Regions from separate parts of the Homo sapiens genome. Here region 1 is linked to region 2. Evidence: promoter capture Hi-C in human tissues and cell types (Jung and others, 2019). All regions are on one chromosome and are shown on one strand. The core of a region is centred on a gene start or on the middle of the fragment in contact, and the rest is flanking DNA. Distances in the headings are between cores, read along the strand shown.

The links. The method cuts DNA at HindIII sites, captures the fragments that hold promoters and counts their contacts. A contact is called where the count stands out against the background at its distance.
Region 1: a contact is called between a fragment that was not itself captured here and the fragment with the promoter of TMEM14C in region 2, in 1 of the 25 tissues and cell types used here (H1 embryonic stem cells).

Annotation. Positions count from the first base shown.
Region 1 is chr6:10,472,385-10,475,344 of GRCh38, reverse strand. All of the region lies in intron 1 of LINC02522 (long intergenic non-protein coding RNA 2522), which reads left to right. Among named protein-coding and RNA genes, the nearest start is that of LINC02522, 8.1 kb to the left of the region's middle. The HindIII fragment of the contact is 5,008 bases long and covers 1-2,960 here.
Region 2 is chr6:10,721,495-10,724,620 of GRCh38, reverse strand. It overlaps TMEM14C (transmembrane protein 14C), which reads right to left and starts at 1,551. Exons shown (of 6, transcript NM_016462.4): 1 at 1,380-1,551; 2 at 1-51. The coding sequence starts at 7. RefSeq lists an enhancer at 655-1,551 and a silencer at 1,491-1,620. The HindIII fragment of the contact is 20,984 bases long and covers 1-3,126 here.

The DNA.
Region 1 (2,960 bases), core at 153-2,652, 250 kb after region 2:
GGTTGGAGGGTCTAGAGGAAACTAGAATTTCAAGGGGTAGGGCATCAACACAGATGTTTGCATCCTGTATTTCACAGTCCTGTTCTTCCCCAATCAGGGCCCTGAACTTGACACAGCAGATCTGGCATGGTTGGGAGTGTCACCTTCTTTGGTCTCAGATGATTAATTCTTAGCCCTGGTCCTCAGCTTTCTCTGGCCTCCCAATGCAAAAGAGAGTTTCTCTGTACACTTCCAAAGAGGTTCTCTGGCATTCATACTCAGATTTCAATTGCTTGGTAATTGCTTTCAACCTTTTGTTATCTTTTTCTAGAGTAAAAGGAGCTTAACTATATGGCCGTTCTCCAGGTTGCTGCTCTAAGCAACAGGGGCTGATTCCACCAGCACCTCTAAGAAGTGTACAGAATTCCTCCCAGCATTTGGGAGCTGGGGCACTTGTCATTGGCTCTCATCCTCTATCATGGGAAGATTGCCACCAGATGCATTAATTCCATGCATCTGGTGCACCATGGTGCACTTCGGAGGCTCGCATGATTTGGAGAAGGCAGAAAAGCAGAGTTGTAGAGCATAGGCTTGAGGCAAGCAGGCAGCTGAGCTCTCATGGAACTGTCTACCATAGCAGCAGCTGAAATTAGAGGCAAGCCCAGGGGCAGGAGGCAGTGTACCAGAATCTGCTGCTACTGCATGCACATTTCCAACTATTTTATCAATGTCAAATTTTAAACTTTTTATATCCACTTGTGTTCCTTTCCAGAGTTCAAACATTGAATTAGTTGTGCAATGGAAGGAGTATTACCAGGACCCAGATGCAGCCCAAGGAAAAAAGAAAACAAAAGGAGACACACACAGTAAGTGGTGTCTCATTGTGATTTGGATTTGCATTTCCCTAGTGATTAGTGATGGGAAACATATTTTCATGTGTTATTGGTCATTTGTTTATCTTCTTTGGAGAAATATTTATTCAAGTCCTCTGCTCTCTTTTTTTTTTTTTTTTTTAGTCAGAGTCTCGCTGTATTAGTCTGCTCTCACACTGCTCATAAAGACATACCTGAAGCTGGGTAATTCATAAAAGAAAGGTTTAATTGACTCACAGTTCCACATTGCTAGGGAGGCAAAGGAGGAGCAAAGTCACATCTTAAATGGCAGCAGGCAAGAAAGTGTGTGCAGGGGAACTTCCCTTTATAAAACCATCACATCTTGTGAGATATCCACTATCACAAGAACAGCACAGGAAAGACCTGCCTCTATGATTAAGTTACCTCCCACTGGTTCCCTCATGACACATGGGAATTATGGGAACTACAATTTAAGATGAGATTTGGGTAGGGACACAGCCAAGCTATATCACTTGCTGTGTTGCCTACGCTGGTCTCCAACTCCTGGGCTCAAGTGATCCTCCCACATTGGCCTCCCAGTAGCTGGGACTACAAGCTTGAGCCACTGCACCTCCTTTGCACATTTTTAAATCAGATAGTTTTGTTTTTGTTGTTGTTGAGTTGTAGGAGCTATTTATGTATTCTGGATATTAACACCTTATCAGATGTATGATTTGCAAACATTTTTTCCCCATTCCATTGGTTGCCTTTTCACTCTGTTGATTGTGTCCTTTGATGCCGAGAAGTTTCTAAGTTTAATGTAGTATAATTTATCTATTTTATGGCTGGGCCTGGTGGCTCACACCCGTAATCCCAGCACTTTGGGAGGTTGAGGTGGGTGGATTGCTTGAGCCTAAGAGTTTGAGACCAGCCTGGGCAACATGGCAAAACCTTGCCTCTACTAAAACACAGAAAAATTAGCCAGGTGTGGTGGCATGCATCTGTGATCCCAGTTATTCGACAAGCTGAGATGAGAGGATTGCTTAAGCCTGGCAGGTTAAGGCTGCAGTGAGCCATAATTATGGCAATGCACTCCAGTCTGGGTGACAGAGCAAGACCCTGTCTCAAACAAACAAAACATTTATCTATTTTATTTTTGTGGCTTGTGCTCTTGGTAACACAACCAAGAAATCATTGTCAAATCCAATGTCATTGTAAAGCTTTCCCTCTATGTTTTCTTCTAGAAATTTTATAGTTTAGGCCTTACATTTAGGTCTTTGATCTATTTTATGTTAATTGTTACAAACGGTGTAAGGTAAGGGTCCCACTTTCTTCTTCTGCATGTGGACATTCATGTTTTCCCAATATTATTTGTTGAAAAGACCCCTTTCTCCATTGAATGGTCTCAACACCCATGTAAAAAGTCATTCAATCATATAGGCAAGGGTTTACTTCTGGGCTTTCTCTTCTATTCCATTGGTCTATGTGTCTGTTTTTATGCCAGTACCACACTGTTTTGATTATTGTTACCATATATGACTGTCTAAAAAATTTTATGTATGTATAAAAATTTTTATGTATACATAAAATTTATACATACATAAAATTTTTTTTGAGACAGTCTTGCTCTGTTGCCCAGGCTGGAGTGCAGTGGCACAATCTAGGCTCAGCTCACTGCAACCTGCGCTTCCTGGCAAGCGATTCTCGTCTTGTAATATATTTTGAAATCAGGAAGTGTGATGCCTCCAGCTTTGTCCTTCTTTCTCAAGCTTATTTTGGCTATCCAGGGTCCCTTGAGAGTCCACATAAATTTTAGGATAAATTTTTAATTGGATTTTTTAATAGGGATTACATTGTTTGCTTAATGTAATCATAATGCATATGATTTTCTTATGCCCCCAACAAATATGAAATCATAGTCATAATCATTTGCTAAATGATTACATTAAGATTGTTTTGGGTAGTGTTGACATTTTAACAAAACTAAGTCTTCCAATCATGAGCACAGATGTCATTCCATTTATTTGTGTCTTCTTTAAGTGCTTTCAGCAATGTTTTAAAGTTTTAGCGTACAGTCTTTTGTCTTCTTGGTTAAGTTTATTTCCAAGTATTTTATTCTTTTTGATACTATTGTAAATGAAATTGCTT
Region 2 (3,126 bases), core at 302-2,801:
CCTGCATTTTTCTCTTCTCTGTCCAGACAGGAGACTACCCCAGGCCTGCACCTGCAGAAAACAAGCTGGATCAGAGGTAGTTAAAAGCACAGCTCTCCAGCAGTCAGAAAGAAGTGTGTCCAACCTGCAAGCTACGCAACCTAAGTCTCAGTATTCTTCACTGTACCATGAGGATAACACTGGTACCGATTTCCTGGGGCTGTAGTGAGCATTCAATGGATGTCACATGTAAAGGTGCTTAGCACCTAGTAAACCCTGAACAGATGCTGACCATTGTCATGAAAACCTCAGTTTTAATCACATAGGCCCACGGGAAACTCAGCAAGATCCACTGACCAGCTCTAAAATCAGGGAATGTGTTAGTCATTTCATCAGCTACCCATGTTATCACTAAATTCAAAAGCAAATACTCCCGTGCCCTTAATCCAACTACTTTAATGTCTCTTTTGAGGGGAGGTAGGGGTGTTGCTTTTCATCCCTGCTGCAACAGCCAATTTCAAAGCTCAACTTTTTTAGAAACTTCTGCGTCCAACTCACAGTTCTTGTTAGGAGGGCAGTAGTAGGAGAGGATAAAATATACGGAAACAGTGGTCATATTCACATGTGACACTACACCCTTGGAAAAACAGCTTCTATTTTCTTACAGAAAGTATCCTGTGTCCAGTGAGCCAAAAGATGAAAGCAATGCATACCCCGTTTATTCTGTTTAAAGAATTAGGCCAAGCGCAGTGGCTGACGCCTGTCATCCCAGTACTTTAGGAGGCCGAGGCGGGCGGATCACCTGGGGTTAGGAGTTCAAGACCAGCCTGGCCAACATAGTGAAACCCATTGTCTACTAAAAAATATAAAAAAATTAATCGCGCATGGTGATATGCGACTGTAAATCCCAGCTACTTGGGAGGCTGAAGTGGGAGGATGGCTTGAGCCCAGGAGGCAGAGGCTGCAATGAGACATATTCAGGCAACTGCACTCAAGCATGGGCGACAGAGCAAGTCCCTCCCTCAAGGACAAAAAAAAAAAAAAAAAGAATTAAGTTTCCATAAAACAGGGAAGGGCAGCGGGCTTGGGATCTTGCCCACAGTTCTTAACTCGAGACGGCACCGAGTAAGGGAGGCTTTTAAAGAGATGGAGCAAGAAAATCACCAAGAAACGAGGCAACACTATGCTACATGGGTAAGCCTTTGCCTCAGGAGCCCAGGGGCTCCGCGCATCCACAACTTCTTTTAAAAGCAGAAAATACCCAACGAGAAAAGCACCGACCACACGGCCTGAAGGCCCGCTGAATCGGGGGGACGAAAAGCAGACGGCCGTGAAACTCCTAAATAATCCCTAAAAGTTAAAAGTGGCAGAAAATAAGAATAATCCCCAAATACTCGCACCGGTCTCACGAAGGCCCCGGCTGTCTACAAGGGCGCGCAAGCCGCAGGAATGACTGCGAGGTGTCGCCGGAAATGCAGCGGCGGGCGCTCTCCGTCCCGGTGGCGGGGCGAGGAGAGGGGAGCGGCTCTGTTGTGCCTGCGCAGTGTACCGGGAGAGGGGCGGTCAGAGAATGGGGACGGTGCGGGCGGGGCTTGAGCCGCCAAGTAGCAGCATGCGCCCTGCATTCAGCGGGTGGAGAGTGGGGCGGGGCATCGCGGCGAGCTCCTGAGTCCAGGGAACGCGGCGGGGAATCTCTGTGCTTCCCCTGTCCGCAGCGCCTGCAGGGCCGACCAGTATCAGTCCCAGGTCCAATCCTGAGTGGCCAAAAGCAGGAGACCCGGAGTTGGACCTGGGACTTGCACAAGCCGGACCACGTGAGCTCGGCCACGCCAGAGGTGAGGCCACCGCTGCGGGACCAGGGAATCTGAGGCTGGATTTTGAAGGACCCCATTAATAGAGGAACAAGTTACAGGGTATAAACCAGATGCAGGCCATCAGGGAGGAGTGTCACTCAAGCCCGATCTTGTCTACACCAGGAAGGGCCTGCCTGGAAGAAAATACGGGGGCTGCAGAATAATGTGGCTCAAAGCCAAATATCCGTTTGTTTTAGGGAGTGAGGCTGCTTGAGAAGCATCTTAAAGGGGGATGGGGAGTAAGTTAAACCTGATTTTTACCCAGCTCTGTGGACCCAAAATATCCACAGCATATTATCTCCATTCCCACTTGGAGTCACTCCTATTCCGTTTCCTGCACCACCATTCTCTTAGTTGCTCTACACTAAAATTTGCTGTCATCGTTGACTTCTCCCTCTCCATCCCCTACAAGTATCAACATACACAAATCTGACCAATATAATTGTCAGTGAATAAAGCGAATTCCAGCCAAGTTTTTTTTTTTTTTATGTGGAGTCTCACTCTATTGCCCAGGCTGGAGTGCAGCGTATGATCTTGTCTCACCACTACCTCTGACTCCCATGTTCAACTGATTCTCCTGCCTCAGCTGCCTGAGTAGCTGGGATTATAGGCCTGTACCACCACCCCTGGCTGCCAGGCTAATTTTTGTTATTTTTAGTGGAGATAGTGAGAGATCACAACGTGCCAGTGTGTTCAAAATTGATGGCTTCTTGGTCTGACTTGAGAAAGCTGCAGACCCTCGCGATGAGTGTTAGTTCTTAAAAGCAGTGTCTCTAGAGTTTTTCTTCCGATGTTTAGAAGTATTCAGGGAGTTTTTCTGCTGGTGGGTTTGCTGTCTCACTGGCTCAACGAGCAAAGCTACAGACCTCTGTGGTGGATGTTAAAGCTCTTAAGGCAGTGTGTCTGGAATTGTTTGTTCTTCCCGGTGGGATCGTGGTCTCCCTAGCTTTGGACTGGCTCAAGGAGCAAAGCTACAGACTTCTATAACGAATGTTAAAGCTCTTAAGGCAGTGCGTCTGGAATATGTTTGTTCTTTCCGGTGGGATCGTGGTCTTCGTAGCTTTGGGAGCAAAACTGCAAATCTTCGCAGTGAGCGTTACCACTTGTAAAGACAACACAGGACCTAAGCACCGAGCAACAGCAATATTTGTTGCAAAAAGAAAAAGAGAAAGAACAAAGCCTCCTCCACATAGAAGAAAACCCAAGTGCGTTACAACTACTGGCTTGGGCAGCCTGCTTTTATTCTCTTATCTGGCCCCACCCACATCCTGCTGATTGGTAGAGCCGAGTGGTC